Linked DNA regions of Homo sapiens: all the other regions are linked to region 1. Evidence: promoter capture Hi-C in 16 types of primary human blood cells and fetal thymus (Javierre and others, 2016). All regions are on one chromosome and are shown on one strand. Each heading gives the region's core, a stretch centred on a gene start or on the middle of the fragment in contact. The rest is flanking DNA. Distances are from core to core; before and after follow the strand shown.

Region 1 (5,516 bases), core at 2,093-4,592:
GGAGGTTTTTAGGCTCTGTAAACTTGCCAGGCACCAAAGTATGCTTTAGGATATCACCATGACTAGTGCCCTTTGCTGCCTGCCATGGTTACATCTTTATCTATGGGCTTGTATTCTCATCCCTGGGAAGCACAGGTCCTGTGACTCTACCATCTCACAGTCCCTTGGAATGTCTTTTACAAAGCAGGTACTCAGATGTGTTTGTCATTGAGGGGGTTGAGAATTTCCCTAGGTCTCTGTGACATGAACAGACTGGGTCTCAACCTGTGCACTGGGAATCACCTGGGGAGTTTAACAAAAACTGATACCCAGAACTCATCCTCAGAGGTTCTGATGTAATTGATGTAGGGTGCAGTCTAAGCATGGGGGATTTTAAGCACCCCATGTTATTCTCAGTTATTCTGATGTACTGCCTGGACTGAAAAGTTCCAGATTAACACTGTTTTAGAAATCTTGGAAGTTTCAGTTGAGGGAAGGCAGCAGAGGGAATAGCTTCAGAGACCAGTAGGCAAGATTCATGTCACAGCTCAGCCACTTACAAATTGGATGAGTTTGAGCAAATCAAATTTCTCAAGCCTCAGTTACATCATCTGTAAAAGAGGATAATGACATCCCCCTAGAAGTGAAGCACTTGAAGTAAGATTATTGAGCATCTACTAAGTGCCAGGTGCTTGGGTGCTCTTAGGGGACAATAGAAAACAAGACAGCTATGGCCCCTTGTGATATTTACCTTCCTTAATTCAGTTTAAGAAACCTTTACTGGGTTTGGGATATCAAGCACTGTATGGGTTCAAAGATGGACAAGAAATTGTACTTGCCCTTGAGAAAAGGAGAAGTAGACACTAATTAAAATAGAGGAAGGAAGATGACAAGAGATGTACCAACCAAGAGTGGTGAGGTTCAAAGGAGAGAGGTATTTAGAGGGCAGACCAGGGAAGTTTCTGTGGAAGACATGATACTTTAGAAGGCTCTTAGAGGATAGATAAGATTTTGTAGAATGGGATGAAGGGTAGTGGAAACGAACAAAAGCATGGAGGCAGGAACAGCCAATAATCCAACCTGGCAAAAGAGCTGGATGTGCATGCAGAGGAGGGAAGGGAATGTGCATACACAGCAGGAAAATAAGGGTTGGGGCCTTAAATGCTAGGGTGAGGCATTAACACTCGATTTGGTCAGCCATGGGAACCATGCAGGGACTGGAACTGAGTTGGATAATTCTTAGCTCTTAATACCTGGACTGCCTCTGGCTTCATTCTGGAATTTGTGTCTTCATTGCCACTGTCCTCGGGGCCTCCCCTTTTCTGCTGATGGCCACCTTGGTCCTGTGTTCAGTGCCCTGTCGCTGCCCTCAGGTGAGGGTCTGATGAACTCACCCAACCTTAAGCATAAGATGCATCTCCAGATGGTAGCTTCCTAGATAGTTGCATTCTGGCAGGTACAGTGGAAGGGGCACCAGACTGAATCTGGAGGAGGCCTGGTTCTAATCCTAGCTCTGTCTCTCACCAGCTATGTGATGTTGGGCAAGTCACCTCCCTTCTCCGAGCCTCAGTTTCCTCATCTGAAAAGTGGCCAGGGTCAATTGACAATGACCCTTCCAGCTGCAATGGACTCTGACTAACTTGTCAATTGCTAAACCCAAGAATGTCTCTTTTGACTCATGTAAGGGGCTGCTGCTGCTGACAATGAGGTATTAAGCATGAGGCTCAAGGGAAAGAGATGGAGAGGCCACATGTAGGTGATCAGCAGGGTCAGCTGAGCCCAGCCTTGGATTCATCACAGCCCAGGTACTGGGTATGAGAATGGAGAAATCTCCAGATGATTTCAGCCCCCAGCTATTCAGGTGTTCCCAGTTGAAATCCCAGACACTGCAGAGCAGAAATAAGCCATACACACTGTGCTGTCTGAACTTCTGTCCCTCAGAATGCATGAACATAGTGAAACTGTTGTCCTGTGCCACCAAGGCTGGTAATGGTTTGTCACCAGTGATAGGTAAATGGAAATGGAGGAAGAGGTGTTTAGGGATAGTTTGGTGGGGGACTTCTCATGTTGGTGAAACTTCACCAGTGGGTGTCATTCCCTTAGGTCCGTTGACATCAGAAACCACCTCTAGTCTTGGATATTACTCTATATATCATGCTGCTCTTAGGAGAGGAGGCTCGCTGGCTGCACTGTTCTGAATTATTGTGAAGTTTATAAACAAGGAACTCTTTGCCGAGGATGTCCTGGACCCGGAGGCACTGCTCAGCTGGGGGGTGGGGTCCATCTGTATTTGTCCCAATGTCCAAAAGGCTGAAGGGTGTGTGTGTGCTCACACTGGTAGAGGTCCTCTAGGTGCATCTTACACACTCCATCTCATCTCAGCCCCACCATAGCTTCATTAGGAGCTACCGGAAGGTGCGTTTCTCCCACTTTACTGATGAAGAAAGAGCCATGCCCAAGAACACACATGCGGAGTGGCAGGGCAGGGCTTTGAACCTGGTGGTAGGACTCTGAATCTAAGGCCCTTTTGAGGAGCCCCATGGGTGACTTAGGGATGGAAATTCCAGGGGTTGGAGGGGTCCTCATTTGCTTCCTCTAAACAGCCTCTTGTTTTGAAATAAGACAAATGAACTTGGCTTAAGTTCTGTTTTCCCTTCCTTCCTCCCTTCACCCCCTCACTCTCATTCCTTTTTTCCTCAGGGATTTTTTGGCAGAGGGCAGAGAGAGGAACCCATTCCCAAGTCCTCTATTAGAGAAGGCGTGATGGTGAGAGGGGGGCTTCACTCAGCAACCGTGCCAGGACAAAGGGCAAACGAGGGCAGGCCGCTCTCAGGCTGGGTCGGGGGCAGTGAGGAGCAGAGCGGCCCTTCTCATCGCAGCCCCCACCTTGCTGTACGCTGTGGGCTTGAGGTTTCCAGGAGAGTCTGCGGTGTAGGGAGCGCTCTGGCTGGGAGGGAGGAGACGGCCTATTCCTCAGTGGGGCTTCCTCGCTCACGGTGTGTATGGTGGGGAGAGGAGCACACAAGTACCATTTTCTGAGGATTGTGCCAGACCATGTCATACGTATAAGCTCATTCAAATCGATTTCCAGATAAGGCCGGGGGAGGGTAGCCGACTTGCCCAAGGCCACGCAGCATGTGCGCGGTAGAGCCGGTAGGGACGCGCAGAGGGTCTTGCTACCGACTCTCCCCGCTCTCCCGGGAGTCTGGGAGCCCTGAGGTGTCCCCTACCCGGCCGGGAAGCTGGGCTCTCGCCCCGGGACTGTCCGGAGGGGGCTCCAGCAGGGGGCGCCCCGAGCCCCGTCCCGGGCAGCCGGGCGCGCCTCCAGCCGGCGCCTGGGACGGGGCTGGCCGCTCCGCCCCCTCGGCTCCTAGGCTGCTCGGCGGGCGGGTGCCGGGCGCTCTGGGAGGAGAGGACTGCAGGGCCGAGCCCAGCGCACCCCGCCGCGTCCCCCGTTCCCGCCGCGCCCGCCGCGCCCGCCGCGCCCGCCGCGCCCGCCGCTCCCGCCGCGCCTGCCGCGGCCGCGACCGCGGCAGCTCAGCCTCCCGCCGTGAGTAGCACCCGTCTGCGGGCTCGATGGGCGGGACGGGGCGCGCGGCCTGACGGCAGCAGCGCCCGGGTCTGGGGCTGGCGGGGCGAAGAGATCCGGGGCACTCGCTCGCAGATCCCGGGCCCGCCGCCCCAATGCCTGACGCCGTGGCCCGGGGCATTGTGGCCGGCACCCGAGCGCGGGAGCTGCCCGCCGCTGCCCTGGGGCGCCCTCCGGAGCCTGGCACTTTGACCTGGGAGACAGGGTAGAGGCGGCGGGCAGAGCCAAGCACCCAGCAGGGAGATGGGAGACAGACGTCCATCGAGTTAGGCCCCCTGGAACGGGCAGAGCACGCCCGGCTCCCGGCCAAGTCTTCTCAGCTTGGGCTGACTCTCTCACCTCTTGCTCCCGCCTGGCACAAGGATGTGATGCGAGGAGGGTGCTCAGATGTCTGAGCTTCCTCTGGGGCTGAATGAAGCTGGGGTCCCCGCCGTCAGGCGCCCCGGCCTGGGGTAGAGCTAGGATGGGCGTGGGGGCGGCCAGCAGGTGTGCTGCAGGTTGGGGTGGAACGGCTTGGAAGGGCGTTGCCAACAGTTGACTAGGACTCTGGGCTAGGCATTTTGGAGGTCCCAAGGCTTGCATAGGTCTGGCTAACCCTCACCGTAACTCTGCACGGTGGAAATTGGTATTCTTACTTTACAAAAGAGAAAACAAGGTCCAGAGAGGTGAGCCTCGTTGAGGCCGTGCAGGTAATGGTAAGGCAGTGGTGCACACTGGAGGAGAGGGCACCATAGCTGGCTGCCTCGGGGGCAAGCGGGCAGGTGCAGGGACAGCGCCTGACATCTTGTATCCTGGAATCCTGTGGAGGGCAGCCACTCTGGTTTCTGACACTGCGACTCCCAACTGCCTCTGTGGAAGATATTCCTGGGAGAGTCCTGTTGACCTAAGAGGCCGTGGTGCCTTGGCCTCTTCACAGCTAACTTCACAGCCCTGTCCTTCCCCAAACCGCTCATCTCCCAAGATGTTTTTTGAGCACCCTCAAGTGGCACCACTGATGATTCAGCACCTTCAGAGGAGACTTGGGCAGAGGGGTCAGGGGTGTGTGGATGTGGCTGGAGGTCTGCTCCTCTGGGGTAAGTTCCTGGCTGGCAGGAATGAGACCCGCACTGACCCTGCCCACCTCCTTGAGGCCTCCCGATTTGTTAGCTGTGGGGTGAACAAGCAGGCTTCCCAAGGGAGCTGGATCTTTGCCAGAGAGACCAAGTTTTTCTTGTGTCAACTCAGGCAGGTGGCTGACCTTCTGTGGGCCCCAGCTTCCTCATTGGAGACTGTGATGGGTCAAAGCCTGGAATGTAGAGAGGAGCTCTGTAATGCCGGAGCCCCATCCCTTCTGTTGGCAGCCTCTCCAGAGCCTGAGTGTGATGATTCCTAATGGGGGTGTGTGTAATGAGACGGTCGTGTGTGTTTTGCCCAACCATTGCCTGCCCTCTTGCTGTGGTCCCGTTTCACTCACTTGCACTTGGTGAGGTGGGATGAGGAACTGAGAGAGTTCACTTTGCAGAGTGAGCTGGGCCAGTGGTGGAGAGGGCTTCTTGAGTGTTGAGAGTTTCCTATGAGGTGATCTTCCAGCCCTAGACACCTCCTCCTAGCTTGTCCCTCAGGAGGCCACTGACTTTGCCAACCCTGGTGACATCTTGGAGGAGTTGGGGTGGCTATCAACAGAAGAAGCCCTGGGAAGAGGAGCGGGATGGGTCACCTGTATGATGCTCAGTGAGTCCCTTCCCCTTTCTGGATCTCAGCTTCCTCTTGTAAAAACAAGTGGGTTAGACCAGACAGCAGTGGTTTTCAAACTTCTGTTTCACAGTGAATTCTTACCCAGAACGCCAACATATAGTATGGATAACGTGGAACTGCTCTGGCTTCCCCTTCTCACCCTGGTGATCCTGAAGCAGTTCTAAAAATCCCTAAATAGATGATCTATGGGGTTCTAGGAAATCTGTGGTAGCCC
Region 2 (5,516 bases), core at 1,929-4,428, 320 kb after region 1:
CCTTAAAATAGTACATTTTGCTCAACCAAGTAGAAGTTATCAGATTCAGAGATACAGATTTGAGGAAAAAAAATTGGTACTTATTTGCAGTGTAATATTTACTGATACTTTTCTTTCTTTTTAAATCTTTTTTTGGAGACAGAGTCTTGCTCTGTCATCCACGCTGGAGTAGGGTGGTGCAATCATAGCTCACTCTAACCTTGAACTCCTAAGCTCAAGGGATCTTACTGCCTTGGCCTCTGGAGTAGCTAAGACTGCTGGCACGTGCCACCACACCCGGCTAATTTTTTTTTCTTATTTTTATAGCGGTGGGGTCTTGCTGTATTTCCCAGGCTGTTCTTGAACTCCTGGCCTCAAATGATCCTCCTGCTCTGGCCTCCCAAAGTGCTGGGATTATAGGCATGAGACCACTATGCCTGGTCCATAGGTGATTTTTTTATTTTTCTTTTTGAGACAGGGTTTTGCTCTGTCATCCAGGCTGGAGTGCAGTGGCACGATCATGGCTTACTGTAGCCTCAACCTCTTGGGCTCAAGTGATTCTCCCACCTCAGCCTTCTGAGTAGCTGAAACTACAGGCATGCACCACCATGCTCAGCTAATTTTTGTATTTTTTGTAGAGGGGGTTTTGCTATGTTGCCCAGGCTGGTCTTGAATTCCTGGACTCAAGCGGATCCACCTGCCTTGGCCTCCCAAAGTGCTGTGATTACAGGTGTGAGCCACTGCGCCCAGCCTACAGATGATTTTTAATGAGTATTTTGCATTAGTTTAGATTTCAAGTGATTTATTTTGAACATTAGAATAAGTAATTGTCATTGGTAATGTCACACTGTAGAATCATGTGTCATATTATTTATCTATTGGCATTTCGTACTCCTCTCTACTTACAGTACTAAAATCATTATGCATAGTATGCCATGTTAGCTTAGAGATTTAGGCATTATAATGAAGGCTGAAATAAAAACCTGTAAGTTGCATTTTCCTAAATCCCATTTCCTAAATGGGATTAATTGGGTAGTTTTTATAATTATGTACTTCCTGAAGATGATTATTTATTAAGCTAGTAAGTGGATTAGTATAGTTTTTTTCTGGGATCCTTTTGTGTTCTTTTCTAGTGCATATTACGCTAGTTACTTGTTCCTATTTTATTGTTCTTTAGAGAATGCAACTGGATATCATCCTGACAAGTTTGCAAGATCATACCCACGTAGCCTCCCTACTTGGCTATAGTTCACCCTCTGATGCTGCTGACCTATCTTCTGTGTGTACTGGCTACGGAAATCTGTCAGATCAACCTTACGGCACTCAGAGCTGCCATCCAGATACCCACCTGGCTGAAATTTTGATGAAGACCCTCTTAAGAAATTTAGGATTTTATACAGTAAGTTGTTCTTTCATTGTAGTAAAAAAAGAATAAAGGGGTAGGGATCTCTTTAGTCAAGGTATTTTGACATTTAAACACCTATGATAGAAATCAAACTCTAGACCCCTCTCCCCCAAGGGGAAAAACATGTCAGGGTTTCTGAAATATTGTGGGGACAAAATAACATGTAATTGAGAATTTCAAAGGGATTTATTTTAGAATTTTACCAGATTTTTCTGATATTGTAGAATAATAAACAGAATAAAATAGGAACATTTTTAGAGAGAAGAATAATGAGCAAGGGATTAACCTTGCCAGTTATAATCTTATAATGAAACAATGTACTTGGAACTGAATGAGAATAGGTTGGTCAGTAGGATAGAGGACAGTGGACCCTATAGCTTTCCCTGTATTAGTATGCCATTAATTCTAAATCTCTAGTGTTTCTTAAATTCATCTTTTTTTCCTGCCATTTCTTTGAGTTCTAAGCCAGATCATTATGATTCAGTGCTAATAATGTTATAGCTATTGTCACTATTGCTGGTTTCTTCTCAGCATCTTACTGCTGGAATAACTTTGTATTAAATAACTTCTTTATATTAAAGAATACAACTTCTTTGTATTAAATTAAAACCCCTTCAGGCCAGGCGCGGTGTCTTATGCCTGTAATCTCAGCACTTTGGGAGGCCGAGTTGGGTGGATCACCTGAGGTCAGGAGTTTGAGACCAGCCTGGCCGATATGGTGAAACCCCGTCTCTACTAAAAATGCAAAAATTAGCCAGGCGTGGCGGCTGGCATCTATAGTCCCAGCTACTCAGGAGGCCGAGGTGGGAGAGTTGCTTGAACCAGGGAGCAGAGGCTGAAGTGAGCTGAGGTCGCACCACTGCACTCCAGCCTGGGTGACAGAGCGAGACCCCATCTCAAAACAACACCACCACCACCACCACCCTTCAGACCCTTTATCATCGGCTCACACACCATTCTTATCTGAAATCATCCTTTTCCAGAATTGTACATTGTACACGTATTTCCTGTTGTTTTTCTCTACCAATCTGTGATGTAAGACTTGACTATTCTAGGAAACCTTGCCCAAATAACCCCATCTAGCCAGAGATGCATATAGCTACACATCTCTGTACTCATCAGCACTTACAGGATCAGAGTGTACTGTGTAACTTAACTTTGAATTGTTTGTGTATCAATTAATATTGTTTCCTGTGGCTCTTCAGGGTCTGGTCTACGTACTCTTTTTCTTCCAATACAAGTCTTAGTGCTCTATCCCGCCCACATTGAAAGGCTGATCACTAAGTCAGAGTGAACATTCTTCCTACAAAATTCTTTTCTTTCAGATTTAAAAATGTAAATTTAATCTGATGTTAAGGAGTAATGGCTGCAAATGGATAAGAACAATATTGTGTATATAGCCATTTGTTAATGACCAAAAATTTTTCCCAAAGTTATAAGGAATGTTACAACAAAGTTGAAAGGAATATTAGGGCTAAGGCAGATTTATATATTATATGGAAATGGAAATAAAATACTAACTGCTTTTGGGTAGAAATAATAAATTATTGTCTCTTTCTGATGTGATTTAAACCAAATTTGTTCTAAGATTTTAAAATAATGGTCCTAATTAACAACTTAGAGCAAGGGCCCTACAGTGTTCTCATATTGTCTTGTATATTGTACACATAAACCAAATTTTCTGCCTAAAGATATTCAGCACATGATTATTTACAGGAAAAAAAGTTGGAAATAACAGAAACATCTAAAAATAGAGGAGTGGTTAAGTAATTTATGGTACATGTGTTCAATGGAATATTTTATCATATTTTATATACACATGGTTTATGAAAATGTGTAAAACATTTATGATTCCATTGGAAAAGAGCAGACCAAAAATAGAATATGCAGTACAATATTATGAAAAATATTTTAAAAGGACAAAGGAAAGAAATACACCAAAAAATATTATAGTAGCAGTCACTTTCTTTGAGTAGTTGTTTAAATGGTGCTTTTAACTTTTTAAAATAGAGTTTTGATATTTTCTAAATATACAAAGCATCTCTTTTTAAAAAATATTTTTAACTTGAAGTAATTTAAAACTCACAGAGGAGTTATAGGAATCATTCAAAGAATTCCCCTGTGCTCTTCAGCCAAATTTGTTCTCTCTCTCTAAATCATTTGAGAGTAAATTGCAGATGGCTGGCTGCCGCTAAGTATTTAAGCATATATTAAGTATGTATTTTTAAAAAACCAGGACATTTTCTTATGTAACAAGAGAATAATTATTGAATTCACAAAATTTAACATTGATACAGAACTGTTATTTAATATATAGTCTACATTTACATTTCTACAGTTGCCCCTATAATGTCCTTTATAGCAGTTTCTGACCCCAGCCCTTCCTCTTCATGATCTTGTCCAGAATCACACATTGTATTTAGTTGTCATATCTCTTTTTTAATTTTAATTTTAATTTTATTAGAGACAGGCTTTCTGTTGCCCAGGCTGGAGTGCAGTGGCACCATCATAGCTCACTACAGCTTCGAACTCCTGGGCTCAAGTGGTCCTCCCACCTCAGCCTCCCAAGTAGCTGGGACTAGAGGTGTGCACCACCATGCTCAGCTAATTAAAAAAAAAAATTTTTTTAGAGGTGAAGTCTTGCTGTGTTGCCCATGCTGGTCTTGAACTCCTGACCTCAGGCAGTCTTTCCACCTCGGCCTCCCAAAGTGTTGGGACTATAGGTGTGAGCTACCGCACCCAGCTGCTTTTTTTTTTTTAATGGAAAAAACAAATAGAAGTAGCTTGATGAATTTTACCATCTAATAGCTAGTATCATAAGGGTTATAGCAAATACTTAAAAATTGGTAATGGGAGAAAGGATATAATGCTTTTTTTTTTTTTTTTTTTTTGAGACATAGTTTCACTCTTGTCGCCCAGGCTGGAGTGCAATGGCGTGATCTTGGCTCACTGCAACCTCTGCCTCCTGGGGTTCAAGCAATTCTCCTGCCTCAGCCTCCCCGGTAGCTGGGATTACAGGCACCCACCACCACGCCTAGCTAATTTTTGTATTTTTTAGTAGAGACCAGGGTTTCACCATGTTGGCCAGGCTGGTCTCAACCTCCTGACTTCAGGTGATGTACCTGCCTCGGACTCCCAAAGTGCTGGGATTACAGGTGTGAGTCACCGCACCCAGCCCATATAATGCTGCTTAAATCAGATTTATGGTAGGTTGTTACTTTCAGTTTCAAGCACTTCAAATATAAACTTCCTTTGTGTGTCATTTTAGGATCAAGCATTTGGAGAGCTAGAAAAGAATAGTGATAAATTTCTACTTGGAACATCATCATCAGAAAACAGTCAGCCTGCTCATCTTCATGAACTGCTATGTTCACTACAGAAACAGCTGCTGGCATTTTGCCATATCAATAACATTAGTGAGGTATGCGATTATTTGTCTTTTATGGTGATCTATCAGGGACCTTGAAACTCAGATATTTGGATAGGCCATGATATTTTTACACCTTGAATCTTTCAAAGTAGTAATTTAGGAACTTTTTTTCTTCTTAGAACTCAAGCAGTGTGGCATTGCTTCATAAACATCTTCAGCTTTTGTTGCCTCATGCCACAGATATTTATTCACGTTCTGCAAATTTGCTCAAAGAAAGTCCTTGGAATGGCAGTGTTGGAGAAAAATTAAGAGGTGAGTTTGGTATTTCATTTCAAATTTAATCAGTCATTAAGAAGTAAGAACACTTGGCTTTCCAAAGTCTTAAGAGAGCCAGAAGCCTCTGGAATAGGAATGGTCTTGAATTTCCTTCTATTGAAGATTCCTTTAGTCTTGGTTTGGGGGTAGTGTTAGCAGTGATTGGTCTTAGAAAGAGTCTACTTGGCATGACAGAGGCCTAATTTAAAGGCACTGGATGATATAAACTCAAAAATATTAATTTTAAATGGCAGAAAGTGAGATTTTTTAATCTGCTCTTTTTTTTTTTTTTTAAAACCTGCTCTTTCTTTACCTTTCTCTTCAGCATTTACCATTTTTTCACTTTCCTTCTTGAAATTCTTTCTTTGGGCTTCTGTGTAGTCACAGTCCTTTTTTCTCTCCTCTTCCTCTGACTCTTCTTTTTCAGTGGGTTCCTATAGGCTCCTC
Region 3 (5,516 bases), core at 1,798-4,297, 300 kb after region 1:
TTTCTAAAACTAAATAATAAACATCAGTTTTGTGATTTATATAATCCATTTTATATGATAATACCTTGTTCTAATCTTAAATCTCACCGGAATAGTGAGAAACACATAAAGGAGAAGTTTTAAGATGGTATTTTCAAAGCTGGTGAGATGGGGCAAATATAACAAATTGCAAGCCGATTAGTGGTTTAGCAGACCCTCTCAGAAGACCTTTCTGTTTTTTCTATGACCAGTTATTTTTATTTTCAGATCAGCTGTTTTTCTGCCTATACAGTGAATGCCTAAAGGCAGCATGATAAATCGCTGTAACAATCTTTAAAATGATCAAAATGATTTTAACATCAGAAAGTTATTTACTATCAAACCACACTTTAGTTTCATAGATTTCATTTATCCCTAAAGCCAACAATCTAATCATCTCAGGAAGTTATGTGTAACGTATTTCTGTTTTTTTCAGGTCTATGCTTGGGGCTGTGGAGCTTGTCTAGGTTGTGGTTCTTCAGAAGCTACTGCTTTGAGACCCAAGCTTATTGAAGAACTGGCTGCCACAAGAATAGTTGATGTTTCTATTGGAGACAGTCATTGTTTGGCTCTTTCTCATGGTAAAGTCATTTGTTTTTAAGGAAATAGTATTAACTGTTGTCTTGTGTAAATATATTACATTTGAATTTGGCTTTTCTTTTATATAATACTTTATATTTTGTTTTTAGATAATGAAGTTTATGCCTGGGGCAATAACTCAATGGGGCAATGTGGTCAGGGAAATTCCACAGGTCCTATTACTAAACCAAAGAAAGTGAGTGGCTTAGATGGCATAGCTATTCAGCAGATTTCGGCTGGAACATCACATAGTCTGGCATGGACTGCTCTTCCTAGGGACAGGTAAGAGTGCCTATGTTTAAAAATTCTTGTGTGTTTTAACATAAACACCAATAAAAAGTAGAAACACTAATAAAAACAGAAATAATTGTGCTTTGTTCATAAAATACTCTTCTGAACATATATAGTATTGCTTTTTCTCTATCATAGAAATGACATTAGATTTCTTTTTATTTGAATGTTGAGGTTAGACATGTTTCCGAAGCAAGAAGTCATACCCAGTATTTAAGACATTGTCTTTTAAACATTTTGAGTTCTCTCTCATCTCTACATGCTGATTTAAAAAAATTAAATATCTGCATATCAAGAGGAAATTAAAATAATTAAAATCAGAACTAGGCTTTATTGATTTAATGTTTAACCTCAGTGCTCTCAATCTGGTTGGTTTTTGAATTTTTTTTTTTTTTTGGAAAAAAAATTGTCATACTTTAAATCAAGGAGGTTAATTTTTGCAGAAACTTAGCTTTTTCCGAAAGTGCTAACTGTACGTGTTTAGTCCATCAGGTAGATGAGTTTCAGTCACTATTAGGAGATTGAATTTTAAAGAATGTTTGGGTTATTTCAGATATTTTCAGATACACATGGGCTAATTTATAGCTTAGAATGTATTTTATTTGCATTCTATGCCTTTGACTCAGGGTTTTAAAATGATACTCTAACCAATTAAAAATATTTATCAATAGTTATTCCTCTAACACAAAAGCCAAAATAAATAAGTTGAATATAAATAATTTGCTATTAGCATTACATCTCCAACTTCCCACTTCATATGTAGATAGTTGGGTCCCAAGAACTGAAAAGTATTAACAAGAAATTTCAGGATTTTGTCTTTTAATAGATTTCAGTATATCACTCTATAGAGTCAGGATATTTTTCTTAATATGAAATATATATTTTCTGGACTCTTAGAACCAGAGGGGCTTTAGTAGATCATGTGACTCAGCCCTCTGCTTTCAGGTGAGTGGACATCCAAACCTTCCAAAACAGGTGGTGGTTGTATGTTTTCTTCTTAAAGATGGCAAATTCTTGGTTTTCCTTAGTTGCTAAAATGAAAGGTTTTATCACTTTCATAATCAGTAATGTCTTCTTTGTATCTTGTTGAACTCATTCAGCTTTAATGTATATATGTATATATATATTTTTTGAGATGGAGTCTCACTCTGTCGCCCAGGCTGGAGTGCAGTGATACAGTCTCTGCTCACTGCAGTGTCTGCTTCCCAGGTTCAAGCGATTCCCCTGCCTTAGCCTCCTGGGTAACTGGGACTACAGGCATATACCACCATGCCCGACTAATTTTTATGTTTTTAGTAGAGATGGGTTTTCACCATGTTGGCCAGGCTGGTCTTGAACTCCTCACCTCAGGTAATCTGCATTCCTTGGCCTCCCAAAGTGCTAGGATTACAGGCATGAGCCACCGTGCCCAGCCAATATATGTTTTAATTTTCGTTTTTGATCGTGCATAAAAATTTCATTTTAAGACTGTTTTATTATTTTCTTATGTGTCCTTCTAGACAAGTTGTTGCATGGCACCGACCTTATTGTGTAGATCTTGAAGAGAGTACCTTCTCACACCTGCGTTCTTTTCTTGAGAGATACTGTGATAAAATAAACAGTGAGATTCCCCCACTCCCTTTCCCTTCATCAAGGTATGTTATATGTATGTTTTGTATCTTTGTGTGTGTGTGTGCGCGCGCGTGTGTGCATGTGTATAAATTATTCCTTTTGAGTTTTGACTTACTGTTCTTTCTTGTTTGGTTTCCCAAATTATATGAAACTTTTTTATAATCTAGAAAAGAGCTAAACTTAGATACTTGTTGATAATAACTTCTAGGAAAAAGTTACTTGTAATTTCACAAATCATGTTTTAAAAATTACTGTTGTTCATGACTTGACAAAATTTTTTTTTTTTTAAGATGGTGTCTTGCTCTGTCGCCCAGGCTAGAGTGCAGTGGCATGATCTCAGTTCACTGCAGCCTCTGCCTCCCAGGTTCAAGTGATTCTCTTGCCTCAGCCTTCTGAGTAGCTGGGATTACAGGCACCCGCCATCATGCCCAGCTAATTTTTGTATTTTTAGTAGAGGCGGGGTTTTGCCATGTTGGCCAGGCTAGTCTCTAACTCCTGACTTCAGGTGATCCACCCACCTCCGCCTCCCAAAGTGCTGGGATTACAGGCATGAGCCACCGCACCTAGCCAACAAAATTTTTAAAGATATAAAAATGTTACCCAAACTGGATAGCACAGGCACTTTTATGATCCGAGAATTCATAGACGTTTATTTGGTTTCAGAGAACACCACAGTTTTCTCAAGCTGTGCCTGAAGCTACTTTCAAATCACCTTGCTCTTGCACTTGCGGGAGGGGTAGCTACCAGCATTCTCGGGAGGCAGGCAGGTCCACTTCGAAATTTGCTCTTCAGACTGATGGACTCAACTGTCCCAGATGAAATCCAAGAGGTAAGAGAATAGGACTTGTGAATCTGTATCTCAAACCACGTCTTTCTCTGAGATTTTAGCTATACAATATATTCAACTGTACATTGGACAATTTCAATTGGATGTTGTTTCCCTTACTCCTGTTTTCTTGGTGAGAGTATTTTTGGTTAACTCATCCTTGAGACAAAGGTCAGATGCCATCTCTGATAAACTTTTTATTCCTGCTCTCCCACCAGATTTGGTTTTTCTTGTATATGTTCTCATTACATCACATTGTATTCTAGTTGCTTATTTACAAACATGTCACTCTTTTTTCACCAGAAGATGAGTTCCTGAGGGCAAGGACCTAGGGCATGGCTTGGTCAGTAGTAGTAACTGAATAAGTGGACTGGATCATCTACTAGAACTGTAACCAGAGCTAAGGAGAGAAAGGTCAGCTTAAGGAGGAAGAAGTGGCCTAGAATAGAATACTGGTTATAAATAAGGAGAGTATAGTTTAAAAAAACATATTTAGTATTATAATACAATGTTAAATTTGGGGGAAACTTAAAAATATCTATATATTTGTAATACAAAATACAGAAAATAAACTCTTTTGGTAGGTAATAATAGAAAGTACAGTAATTTTTAAACCAGTGCACTCCTAAATTATCAGTGGATCAAAGAAAGAAATTACAAGATAAATTTAATACTTAAGATTAATGAAAACAAAAACTTAACATACCAAAACTCATGAAATGCAGCTAAAGCTGTGCTTGGAGGAAAATTTATAGCTTATAAACATCTATATTAAAAAAAATATATATCGAATCAGTAATTTAACCTTCTACCTTAAGAAATTAGAAAAAGAAGAGTCAACTCAACCCAAAGCAAGTAGAAAAAAGGAACTAATGTAGATTAGAGTGAAATTAAAAAAATAAAGAACAGAAAAACAATTGAGGAGATCCAGGAAACTAAATGTTTGTTCTTTGAAAAGACAAAATCAACAAACCTCTGGCTGGACTGACCAAGAAAAATGAGAGAGGACTTAAATTACTCAAATCAGGAATGAAAGACAAGATATTACTACTGACCCTACAGAAATCAAAAGGGAAATTGAGAGGCAGAGCAAGATGGTGGAATAGAAGGCTCCACTGATCATTCCCCCTGCCAAGGACACCACTTTAACAACTCTACACAGAAAAAACCACCTTCATAAGAACCAAAAATCAGGTGAGCACTTACAGTACCTAGTTTTAACTTCATATCACTGAAAGAGGCACTGAAGAGATAGAAAAAACAGTCCTGAATAGGCAGTGCCACTCCTCCCCCTGCAGCAGTGGCAGTATGGTGCAGAGAGTGTCTCTGGGTGCTTGGGGAGGGAGAACACAACAATTGTGAGGCATTGAACTCAATGCTATCCTGTTAGAGCAGAAAGGAGAACTGGACCAAACTCAGCTGACACCTGTGCACAGAGGGAGCATTTAAACCAACCCTAGCCAGAGGGGAACTGCTGATCCCAGTGATCCAAATTTGAATTCCTGCAAGGCTTGCCACTGAGGGCTATAGTGCTCTGTGTCTCCAAGTAAACTTGAAAGGCAGTCTAGGCCAAAAGGACTGCAACTCTTAGGCGAGTCCTAGTGCTGAACTGGTCCCAGAGACAGTGGACAGAGGGGCAGGTGACATACTGAGACACCAGCTGGGGTAACCAAGGGAGTGTTGGCTCACCCCCCGCCTCCCCGACCCCAATGCCAGGCTACACAGCTCGTGGCTCCAAGAGAGACCCCTTTCTTCCACTTGAGAGGGAAGAGTGGGCAGGACTTTGTCTTGTGTCTTAGATAACATCTTGGTCACAGCAGGATAGGGGACCAGTCAGAGTCGCAAGTCTCCCTGTTCCAGATGCCAGCTCTCAGATGACATTTCTAGACATGCCCCAGGCCAGAAGGGAACCCACTGCCTTGAAGAAAAGGACTCAGTACTGGCAGCATTCATCACCTGCTAACCGAAGAGCCCATGGGCTGTGAATAACCAGCATTGATACCCAGCTGCTATGTCAAGGGCTTTGGGTGAGCCTCTGAGACTTTCTGGCTTCAGGTACCAGCACAGCCATGGAGGGACAGAGTACCAAATACACTCTTGGGATCCCTGATTCCAGGACTTGATTGTTAGATGGCATTTCTAGACCTGTCCTGGGCTACAGGAGAACCCACTGCCCTGAAGGGTGAGACCT
Region 4 (5,516 bases), core at 1,394-3,893, 280 kb after region 1:
GGTTTGGTATTGTTAAATTTGGCAGTAATTTATTAAAGGCTCCCAGTATTTTCTCTTCTTTCTCAATATATATATACATAATGCAAAATAATAATTATTGCTATCAGTTTTGAGATCTTACTATGTAGTGGGAACTGTGCTAAGCATGTTTTACACATAATTTCAGTTAATTATGTAACAGCTCTAAATGTTGTGGGCATCATTCCCATCTCAGGATGAGACCCTTTCAGTAAGAGCCAGTAAGGGATGGAGCCTAGATTTAAACCCAAGTTTATCACTAAAAACTTTATGCTGTTTTCAACATTTTTCTCCATACTGTAGAAAGGCATAAAAGAGGGATCATGATGGCCCTGGTGCCAGCTCCTAGAAAGGTACATCAGTCTACTCCTTACCTGTTTTTGTTTTGGTGATCACTAGAGTTGGCTTTTAGATAACGAAGCCACAGATCACAATTGCGATTTTTCTCAGAAATGCTTCACAGCTAACTAGGGAATTTGGAGAGGTTGCAACCAAGTATTTGTTGTTGTAGCAACACATTGTATGTCTAGGGACTAGTTACTTTTAAACACTTAGCTTCTGATATGATTCCATACCTGAGTCTGGACTCTGAAGCCTTACTACTCAAAGTGTGAGCCACAGACAATAGCACTGGCATCACCTACATTTGTTAGAAATGCAGAATCTTAGGCTTCTTCTCTACTTACTGATTAGGATCTGTATTTTAACAAGATCACCAGGTAATTCGTGTCAACATTGAAATTTGAGAAGCAACATCCTAAATAATTAAAAAGAAAAACTGACTTGGCAGCAGCAGGTTAATAGCAGATGACCCAGCAATAAGAGAAACAGTCGAATAGAATCAGAGATCTGAAGACGATGAGCAATGTGCTATGATTGGAAGGCTCTGATTAGCTATCATAGTTATTGAAAGCTATCTGAGAAGTGAGGGATTTGGAACAGCTGAAGAGAATAATTAAGAATAATGATTATTAATGGGGTGGGGCGATAACGGAGACTATGACAACAGGAAGCTTTACATAGTAAATTTATAAAGATCTTGGAGAAAAGGAAGCTATATGAAGAGACTGAAGATTAAACTTCTCTGCAGCTTTGCTGGGGTGAGGAGAGTGGTGTGAAAGTCATTCACATGGACTTCATCATAGCAGCTTTTGAAGGCAGAGGGAGAACTTGTTAGATGACAAAAAAGTTCTGCCATGTAATACTCAGCTCTTCGGAGAACTCTCCAAAGTGATTGACATTTCATTGATTTGAGGGTAGCAAGATATTTGCTGTTTTGTTTTGTTTTTGAGACGGAGCCTCGCTCTTGTTTCCCAGGCTGGAGTGCGGTGGGGCGATCTCGGCTGACTGCAGCCTCCGCCTCCTGGGTTCAAGTGATTCTCCTGCCCCAGCCTCCCCAGTGGCTGGGACTACAGGTGCCCGCCACCACGCCCGGCTAAAATTTTGTATTTTTAGTAGAGATGGGGTTTCAGCATGGTCAGGCTGGTCTCTAACTCCTGACCTCAGATGATCCACCCGCCTTGGCCTCCCAAAGTGCTGGGGATATTTGCTGTTTTTATTTAAAAGTATTATTTATTGTTTATCTGCCCAGTAGATACAGATTGATGAAAAGTTCACCATTGTTTTATTTACCTGATGGAATAGAAAGAGGACAGATGAATATATAGAGCAACTTAAAACCTATAGGCCAGGCGCGGTGGCTCACGCCTGTAATCCCAGCACTTTGGGAGGCCGAGACGGGTGGATTGCCTGAGGTCAGTAGTTCGAGAGCAGTGTGGCCAACATGGTGAAACCCTGTCTCTACTAAAAATACAAAAAAATTAGCTAAGCATGGTGGCGTGCACTTGTAATCCAGCTACTTGGGAGGCTGAGGCAGGGGAATTGCTTAAACCCGGAAGGTGGAGGTTGCAGTGAGCCGAGACTGCGCTACTGCACTCCAGCCTGGGCAACAGAGCAAGACTCCATTTCAAAAAAAAAAAACAAATGAAAAACCTATAAAACTTTAGTGTAGGCTGGGCATGGTGGCTCACGCCTGTAATCCCAGCACTTTGGGAGGCCCAGGTGGGCAGATCACCTGGGGTTGGGAGTTTCAGACCAGCCTGAACCAACATGGAGAAACCTCTTCTCTGCTAAAAATACAAAATTAGCTGGGCATGGTGGCTCATGCCTGTAATCCCAGCTACTCGGGAGACTGAGGCAGGATAATTACTTGAAACTGGGAGGTAGAGGTTATAGTGAGCCGAGATCGTGCCATTGCACTCCAGCCTGGGCAACAAGAGTGAAGCTCTGTCTCAAAAACAAAACAAAACAAAAAAACCCCTAACCTTTAATGTATTACGAAACTTAAAAAATTCTAAGTAAGCTTCATTAATAGTTGATAAGCTTTATTAATGTGCTGTTTTTTATTTTGAGACGGAGTCTCATTCTGTCACCTAGGCTGGAGTGCAGTGGTGCGATCTGCAACCTCCGCCTCCTGGGTTCAAGCGATTTTCCTGCCTCAGCCTCTCAAGTATCTAGGATTACAGGCACATGCCACCATACCTTGAGAAGTTTTGTATTTTTAGTAGAGACAAGGTTTTACCATGTTGGCCAGGCTGGTCTTGAACTCCTGACCTCAAGTGATCTGCCCACCTCAGCCTCCCAAAATGCTGGGATTACAGGTGTGAGCCACTGTGCCTGGCTAATATGCTTTTAATGATATTAATTTTAATTAATTACTAATATATAATATAACATAAATAAATTAGTATTAATCAAATTAATCGGATTAATATTGATGAAGTTAATGTTTGACCTCTATGATTATATTAATAGTATAAATACATTTTAATATTTACTAATAGTTAATAAGCCTTAATAATAAGCTTTATTAGTAGATCCTGAGGTGGGAGGATCACTTGAGCCCAGGAGGTTGAGGCTATAGTGAGTTATGTAAACCAAAAACTATCTGAGACAGGTCGCAAATCAATTTAGGTTTATTTTGTCAAGGTTAAGGACAATGCCTGGGAGATGAGTGTAAACCAAGAAGTGTCTGAGACAAGAAATTGATCTTTCTCTATCAGTTTAGAAAGCCATTGCACTCCAGCCTGGGTGACAAGAGCGAAACAGTCTCAAAAAAATAAAATAAAGTTTATTTTGCCAAGGTTAAGGACATGCCTGTGACAGCCTCAGGAAGTCCTGGTGGCAGGTGCCCAAGGCAGTTGGGGTACAGCTTGCTTTTATACATTTTAGGGCGACATAATATATCAATCAGTACATGTAAGATCTTATTGGTTTGATCTGAAAGGATGGGATAACTCGAGGTGGGGGGCTTCCAGGTCATAGGTAGATTTAAACATATTCTGATTGGCCGTTCGTTGAAAGAGTTAGTGGAATGTGTGGGTTACAATAAGGAGTTGTGGGAGAGGTAGGTTTTATCATGCAGATGAAGCCTCCAAGTAGCAGGCTTAGAGAGAATAGACTGTAAATGTTTCTTTTTAGACTTAAGATCAGTATTGATGTTAACGCTGGATGGATATAATGAGGCATGTCCGATCTCCCACTTCCCGTCCTGGCCTGAATCAGTTCTTCAGGTTAAATTTTAGAGTGCCCTCCCATAGGAGGGAGTCCATTCAGATGGTTGCTGGGGGCCTTTGAATTTTATTTTTGGTTTACACAGATCTGTGCCTTTTTCCAAAGGTGATATTGAGGGCTTCACTATTTAAAGGGGGTAAGCAGGCTGGAGGAGAACAAAGGAGGGTATGGTCGCATTACTGAATCCACAAATTGCAAGAGAAAAGGAGCAGAATAGTGGAATTATGTATTTCTCTGGCGCTCAGTAGATAGGCATTTTATATAAGATAAGGTGAACAGAGAGTAGTTACCTATGAGGATATTCACCCTTTCATCTGTAGCTATCTGCTTCGGAACAAAAGGAAAGGCAGCTTCTTGCATAAGTCAGCCGTCAGCTTAATTTTTTTCTTTTGTCAGGGTGAATTGGAGTCTCAAGGTTTTATTTCCTTTTCACAGCAATAATCTTTGCCACTGAATTCCAGCCTTGGCAACAGAGCAAGACCCTAGAAGGTCATATACCAGTTAAACTCCTCCATTTTGCCTCTTAATGTGCATGCTTGATCCCACTCACCCAGCTCCTGAGATCTTATTAGCAAGTTGCTGATCACAAGTTTCAGGGTTTTTTTCTGTCTGTTGGGAGACTGCCTTTCCCTGGTGCTGGCTGCAGTCAATTATTGTTTTAGAGAGACAGTTAACCACTGCCTGACCATCACTTGATGGTCACCTGACATACCTGGTGGTGGGGGTTGTAACACTGTAACACTGGGACCTTGGTTGTGGTGAAACTAAGAAGGGAGGGACAGACTTTCTGCTGCTTTGGTCACGTCATTACTAAAGCTGGCTGTATTCTGTCAGGTGGAAGGCAGGTGGGCAATATACCCATGGGGAGTATTTCCTGAGACCACATTTTCTGGATACTGGTCACCCAAAGAGTGTGTAACTGGCAGAATTCCACTTCCTTGATTGTTTCGAGAGCCCTGTGTCCCTTGGAATAAATCACTTTTTAATCAGGTAATCAGTGAGGGATTGGCACTTAATTTATCATGTGATGCAGTAGCCAGCTCGTTTAATAAAACTTCCTTGCAAAAGTTAGTTTCATGACCTAATGTTAGGATTTGGTTTCAGTGCACATAATTATATAAACAGGTCTTCAAATAGGTGTTGTTTTTGTAGACTGTTTAACTAATTTTAATGCATATGTCTCTCCCCTTCCTACGCTGTGTCCCGCAATGTTTTAATTATAGGGTTCATCTGCTGATCGGAGTCAGTGGAGAGAACCAACCAGAACATCGGATGGCTTGTGCTCCCTTTACGAGGCAGCATTATGTCTCTTTGAAGAGGTACGTAATAATCGTGGCTTTTGTATTAACAACTTTGTGTTAAAATGCTATGGCATGTATTTATCCCTTAAAAATAATCCATTTTCTCTGGAAAAGCTACAAAAGGAAGTGGCACCAGTTGTTACCTCTAGAGAGAGGAACTGGGTATCTAGGGTGGGGGTGGGGTGAGTAGGAGACATTCTTTTCAATGTATACCCTTTCATTTATTTTGATTTTTGAATTATGTGCTGGTAACTTTAATTGAAAAAATGTTGTATTAAGTAAAACACATAGAAAAGCATACACATATATTGCTTAATGAATTATTATAAAATAAATACCCTTCTAATATGTACCTAGGTAAAGAATTTTCTTAGTCATTGCAGAAGCCCTTTCACAGCCTTGTCATAACCTCTTTTCTCCTCCCCAAAGTAACCACTATTGTGACTTTGACCACTTCCTTGCATTTCTTTATAGTTCTGTCAACCAGATGTGCATCCTTAGACACTATAGTCTTGCCCATTAAAAAAAAAAAAAGGAAAGTCTTTTAAATATTTTAATCTCTAGGTTCCCTCCTCCATTTTTCTTTTCCTTCAATATGTTTGTTCAGGAATCTAGGCTTTCTAG
Region 5 (5,516 bases), core at 1,146-3,645, 260 kb after region 1:
TGTAGTGGCTATTCTCAGGCACAATCATAGCATACTACAGCCTCGAACTCCTGGCCTCCAGCAGTCCTCCCACTTTAACCTGCTAAGTAGCTGGGACTACAGGCACACTGCAGTGCATCTAGCTTGTCTTTCCATTCTTATTTATAATATTGAGTACCTTATGTTTTGTCTTTTTTTTCTTAATTTTGTTAGCTGATTGTTTTCATTTTTTTCCACTAAAGAATTATCTCTTGGGTTGGGCATGGTGGCTCACACCTGTAATCCCAGCACTTTGGGAGGCCCAAGTGGGAAGATTGCCTGAGTCCAGGAGTTTGAGACCAGCCTGGACAACACGGTGAGACCTCTGTCTCTAAAAAAGAAAAAGAAGAATAATCTCTCTGAGATATCAATCCTGTTGTTTTTGAATTTTTCTCATTTACCAATTTCCCTTCCCTTCCCCTTCCCCTTTTCCTTCCTTCTTTCCTTCTTTATTTAGAGACAGGGTCTCTGTTGACCAGGCTGCAGTGTAGTAGCATGATCTTGACTCACTGCAGCCTTGACCTCCTGAGCGCAAGGGATCATCCCACCTCATCCTGCTGAGTAGCTGGGACCACATCATGCGCCACCATTCCTGGCTAATTTTTTGTATTTTTTGTAGAGATGGGGTTTCTCCATGTTGTGCAGGCTGGTCTTGAACTCCTGAGCTCAAGTGATCCGCCCACCTTGGCCTCCCAAAGCCTTGGGATTACAGGTGTTAGCCAGCGTGCCCAGCCTAATATTCTTAAAGTTTATTTTGTTTTTCTAATTTTGAATTGAATTATTAATATATTTAATTTTTTTAAGAGACTTTGTCTCACCTTATTGCCCAGGCTGGAGTGCAGTGGTGCACTTATAGCTCACAGCTTTGAACTTCTGAGCTCAAGCGATCCTCCCACCCAAGCCTAAGTTGCTGGGACCACAGTCGTGTACCACCATGCCCAGATAATTTTTAAACATTTTGTCAAGGTAATGTCTTGCTATGTTGCTCAGGCTGGTCTTGAACTCCTGGCCTAAAGCTTCCTCCCACCTTGGCCTCTTAAAATGTTGGGATTATAGGAGTGAGCCACCACACCTGGCTTTCAGTTAATTCTTACTTAGAAATGGAGCATTTGAGTCTTTATATATTTATTTGAGTCAACTTTGACTACATTCCCTTGATTTTGATATATGTTTCTTTTATATAACTTTCTAGATAATTTGTAACTCCTTTCCCCTTCCTCTCTTTGTCTGAGAAACTTAGTTTCCAAAAATTTAGGTTTTGCCTTGTTTTGGATTTCTTTAAAAATGCTTTTTGAAAATTTGCACTGATAGGCCAGGGGCAGAGGCTCACGCCTGTAATCCCAGCACTTTGGGAGGCCGAGGTGGGCTGATCACCTGAGGTCAGGAAAGCGAGCCCATCCTGGCCAACACAGTGAAACCCCAACTGTACTGAAAATACAAAAAAAATTAGCTGGATGCGGTGGCAGCCACCTATAGTCCCAGTTACTTGGGAGGCTGAGGCAGGAGAGTCGCTTGAACCTGGGAGGCGGAGGTTGCAGTGAGCCGAGATTGCGCCACTGCACTCCAGCCTGGGTGACAGAGTGAGACTCTGTCTCAAAAAGGAAAAAAAAAAAAATTTGCATGATAATACATGCATATATAAGAAATTCAAATTTATGCAGTGAAGAGCAAATATCTTTCCTACCCCAGCTCCCAGTAACCCAATTCTCCTTCTCCCAGAGGCAACTAGTGTTCCTAGGTTTTAAAAAAATGTTTTCAGCATTTATTATTAAACCCTTTTTAATATAGTTATGTTACTGTATATGAACTATTACAGTATACACAAATACTTTACATATTTTTCTTTTTTAACAGTGTATCTTGGAGATTGCTCCATTTTAGTTGTTTTGTGAATTCTTTTTGGTTTCACTACTTTCTGGCTAGAACTGTGGTCTATAATTATGTGTATATTTTTGAATTATTTGTTAGATAATAGTCAATTTGAAAATATTTTCCACTGGTACTTAAAAAGAACATATTTTAGGATATGGATAATATTTTAGATTAGATTTATCATCTTGGATTACATAGATGACTTCAGGACATCCATGAAACCTTTGGAAATTTGCTCATTTTTATGAGTATGAGCATGAGTTTTATTCTTTTTTTTTTTTTTTGAGATAGAGTCTTCCTGTGTCACCAGGCTGGAGTGCAGTGGCATAATCTTGGCTCACTGTAACCTCTGCCTCCCGGGTTCAAGCCATTCTCCTGGCTCAGCCTCCCGAGTAGCTGGGATTACAGGCGCCCACTACCATGCCCAGCTAATTTTTGTATTTTTATTAGAGACGGGGTTTCACCATGTTGGCCAGGATGGTCTTGATCTCCTGACCTCGAGATCTGCCCGCTTCAGCCTCCCAAAGTGTTGGGATTACAGGTGTGAGCCACTGCACCCGGCCCGATCATGAGTTTTATTCTTTGGGGAGTCACGGTCTACTGCTTTTATCAGATTCTCAAAGGAATTCATGGTCTACCAATAGATTTAAGGACTGGTGGTTTATATACTGTTGTACTTTGCCTTATTTGTCAAGTACTGGCATATACCTTAGAGATACTGTGGTTTGGTTCCAGACCACTGCAATAAAGCGAAAAGTACAGTAAAGCAAATAAATCACAATAAAGCCAATGTCATAGTAAAGCAAGTCACACAGTTTTTTTGGTTTCTCAGTGTATATAAAGGTTATGTGTACCGTATACTGTAGTCTGTTAAGTGTATAATAGCATTATGTCTAGAAAAGCAATGTATGTACCTTAATTAAAAAATACTTTTTTTTTTGCTAAAAAATGCTGAGAGTCCTCTGATCCTTCAAAGAGTTGTAATCTTTTTGCTCATGGAGGGTCTTGCCTTGATGTTAATGGCTGCTGACTGATCGGGATGGGGGTTGCTGAAAGGTTGGGATTACTTTGGCAATTTATTAAAACAAGACAACAGTGAAGTTTGCTGCATTGATTGGCTCCTCCTTTCATGAATGATTTCTCTGTAGCATGCAATGTTGTTTGATAGCATTTTACCCACAGTAGAACTTCTTTCAAAATTCAAAAGGAGTCAGTCCTCTCTAACTCTGCTACTGCATTATCAATTAAATTTATGTAATATTCTAATCCTTTGTTGTCATTTCAGTAATATTCACAGCATCTTCACCAGGAATATCTTTCATTTCAATAAACTACTTTCTTTGCTCATCCATAAGAAGCAACTCCTCATCCGTTAAAATTTTATCATGAGATTGCTGCATTCAGTCACATCTTCGGGCTCCACTTCTAATTCTACTTCTCTTGCTATTTCCACCACGTCTGCAGTTACTTCCTCCACTGAAGTCTTGAACCTCTCAAAGTCATCCGTAGGGGTTAGAATCAACTTCTTCCAAACTCTTGTTAATATTGATACTTTGGCCTTTTCCCCATGAACCATGGATGCTCTTAATGGCATCTACAATGGTGAATCCTTTCCAGAACATTTTCTATTGACTTTACCCAGATCTCAGAGGAATCACTATCTGTGGCAGCTATAGCCTTACAAAATGTATTTCTTAAATACTAAGACTTGAAAGTAGAAATGACTTCTTTATCCATGTGCTGCAGAATGGATGTTGTGTTTAGTAGGCATGAACACAACATGAATCTCCTTGTACATCTCCAGTAGAGCTCTTGAGTGACTAGGTGCGTTGTCAGTGAACAGTAATGTTTTGAAAGGAAGCTTTTTTCTGAGCTGTAGGTCTTAACAGTGGGCTTAAAATATTTAGTAAACTGTGTAGTAAACAGATGTGCTGTCATCCAGGCTTCGTTGTTGGATTAGTAGAGCACAGGGAGAGTAGGTTTATAATAATTCTTAGGTGCCCTAGGTTTTTCAGAATGTAAAAGAGCATTGGCTTCAACTTTAAGTCCACCAGCTTCGTTAGCCCTTAGCAAGAGACTCAACCTGTCCTTTGAAGGCAGGTATTGAATTATTTCTAGCTATGAAAGTCCTAGATGGCATCTTCCAATAGAAGGCTGTTTTGTCCACATTGAAAATCTGTTGTTTAATATAACTACTTTCATCAGTTACCTTAGGTAGATATTCTGGATAACTTTGTGCAGCTTCTACATCAGCACTTGCTGCTTCACCTTGCACTTTTATGTTGTGGAGACAGGTTCTTTCCTTAAGCCTCATGAGTGAACCTCTGCTAGCTTCAAACTCTTCTGCATTTTCCTTACCTCTCTCAGCCTTCATAGAATTGAAGAGAGGGCCTTGGTCTGGCTTAGGCTTTGGTTTAAGGGAATATTGTGACTGGTTTGATATTCTATCCAGACCACTCAGACTTTCCCCATATCAGGAAAAAGGCGATTTCACTTCTTTATCATTTATGTATTCATTGGAGTGGCTTTCTTGGTTTCTTTAAGAACTTTCCCTTTGTATTGCAACTTGGCTAACTGGCGCAAGAGGCTTAGCTTTTGGCCTGCCTTCCTCACTAAACTTAATCATTTCTGGCTTTTGATTTAAAGTGAGGGACATGGTGTCTTCCTTTGTCTTGAACACTTAGAGGCAATTGTAGGGTTATTAGTTGGCCTAATTTCAATATTGTTGTGTCTTAGGCAATAGGGAGTCCCAAGGGTAGGGAGACTGGGGAATGGTTGGTTGGTAGAGCAGTCAAAACACGTACCATTTATCGATTAAGTTTGCCATCTTATATGGGTGTGCTTTGTGGCACCCCCAAACAATTACAATAATAACAATCAAAGCTTGCTGATTACAGGTTACCATAACAGTTATAATAATAATGAAAAGTTTGAAATATTGTAAGAATTACCAAAATGTGACACAGATACATGAAGTGAACACGTACTTTTGGAAAAATGGCACCAATACACTTGCTCAAATGAGGGTTGTCATAAACCTTCAATTTGTAAAAAAGATGCAGTATCTGTACAGCACAGTAAAGTCAAGTGCAATAAATGAGGTATGGCTGTATTTAAGTCTCTATTACTGTGGTTGCCATTCTTCCTATATTCTCTGTGGTTTCCGCTTCATTGTTTTATAACTCTGCTTGTAGTAAAATAAAACTGTTTGTGACAGTTTTATTAGTGATTATACTGTTCATCATTACCAAGTAACCCTTTTTGTCCCATTTATTACCTAACAGATGATACTTTTTCTGTTTGCATTTGTTTGTTATATCATTACCCTACATTTTATCTTCAACATTTTGAAATCACTTGTTTTAGATCCATCACTTAGGATATACATTTAAAAAATGATTTACTTATTAGATTTATAGTTATATACATTTAATTTATAGCAGAGATTATAAATTTTGGGCCATAACTACTTTCATATATGTTTTATTCAGTTAGCATATAGGTTATTATTATTTCACATCAGTCTTTATCTTTTGGTTTTAATAGGTGAATTTTACAGATGTTGATGTAGTAGCTGTGCTCGGTCTTACAGCTAACCTTTAGTCTCTGTTTTACCTTTTTTTTTT

Evidence for each region. Contacts are between HindIII fragments. The CHiCAGO score rates a contact against its expected background, and 5 or more counts as called.
Region 2: a fragment that was not itself captured here is called in contact with the fragment with the promoter of DAPK2 in region 1 in 9 of 17 cell types (megakaryocytes, M0 macrophages, erythroblasts and 6 more); the score reaches 7.0 in megakaryocytes.
Region 3: a contact is called between a fragment that was not itself captured here and the fragment with the promoter of DAPK2 in region 1, in 16 of 17 cell types (total CD8 T cells, megakaryocytes, M1 macrophages and 13 more). The highest score is 15.2, in total CD8 T cells.
Region 4: a fragment that was not itself captured here is called in contact with the fragment with the promoter of DAPK2 in region 1 in 14 of 17 cell types (total CD8 T cells, M1 macrophages, M0 macrophages and 11 more); the score reaches 9.5 in total CD8 T cells.
Region 5: a contact is called between a fragment that was not itself captured here and the fragment with the promoter of DAPK2 in region 1, in 13 of 17 cell types (activated CD4 T cells, M1 macrophages, endothelial precursors and 10 more). The highest score is 9.0, in activated CD4 T cells.

Annotation. Positions count from the first base shown.
Region 1 is chr15:64,044,311-64,049,826 of GRCh38, reverse strand. It overlaps DAPK2 (death associated protein kinase 2), which reads left to right and starts at 3,342. Exons shown (of 12, transcript NM_014326.5): 1 at 3,342-3,529. RefSeq lists silencers at 3,169-3,378, 3,399-3,458, 3,489-3,708 and enhancers at 4,909-4,958, 5,009-5,058. The HindIII fragment of the contact is 10,777 bases long and covers 1-5,516 here.
Region 2 is chr15:63,728,786-63,734,301 of GRCh38, reverse strand. It overlaps HERC1 (HECT and RLD domain containing E3 ubiquitin protein ligase family member 1), which reads left to right. Exons shown (of 78, transcript NM_003922.4): 14 at 1,157-1,378; 15 at 4,653-4,805; 16 at 4,934-5,066. Among named protein-coding and RNA genes, the nearest start is that of HERC1, 100 kb to the left of the region's middle. The HindIII fragment of the contact is 7,228 bases long and covers 1-5,516 here.
Region 3 is chr15:63,744,730-63,750,245 of GRCh38, reverse strand. HERC1 (HECT and RLD domain containing E3 ubiquitin protein ligase family member 1) reads left to right here. Exons shown (of 78, transcript NM_003922.4): 9 at 455-599; 10 at 708-879; 11 at 2,388-2,522; 12 at 3,163-3,328. Among named protein-coding and RNA genes, the nearest start is that of HERC1, 86 kb to the left of the region's middle. The HindIII fragment of the contact is 5,044 bases long and covers 526-5,516 here.
Region 4 is chr15:63,763,490-63,769,005 of GRCh38, reverse strand. It overlaps HERC1 (HECT and RLD domain containing E3 ubiquitin protein ligase family member 1), which reads left to right. Exons shown (of 78, transcript NM_003922.4): 3 at 4,815-4,910. Among named protein-coding and RNA genes, the nearest start is that of HERC1, 68 kb to the left of the region's middle. RefSeq lists enhancers at 1,801-2,301, 3,117-3,874. The HindIII fragment of the contact is 482 bases long and covers 2,403-2,884 here.
Region 5 is chr15:63,780,723-63,786,238 of GRCh38, reverse strand. The region is part of intron 1 of HERC1 (HECT and RLD domain containing E3 ubiquitin protein ligase family member 1); the gene reads left to right. Among named protein-coding and RNA genes, the nearest start is that of HERC1, 50 kb to the left of the region's middle. The HindIII fragment of the contact is 2,717 bases long and covers 1,037-3,753 here.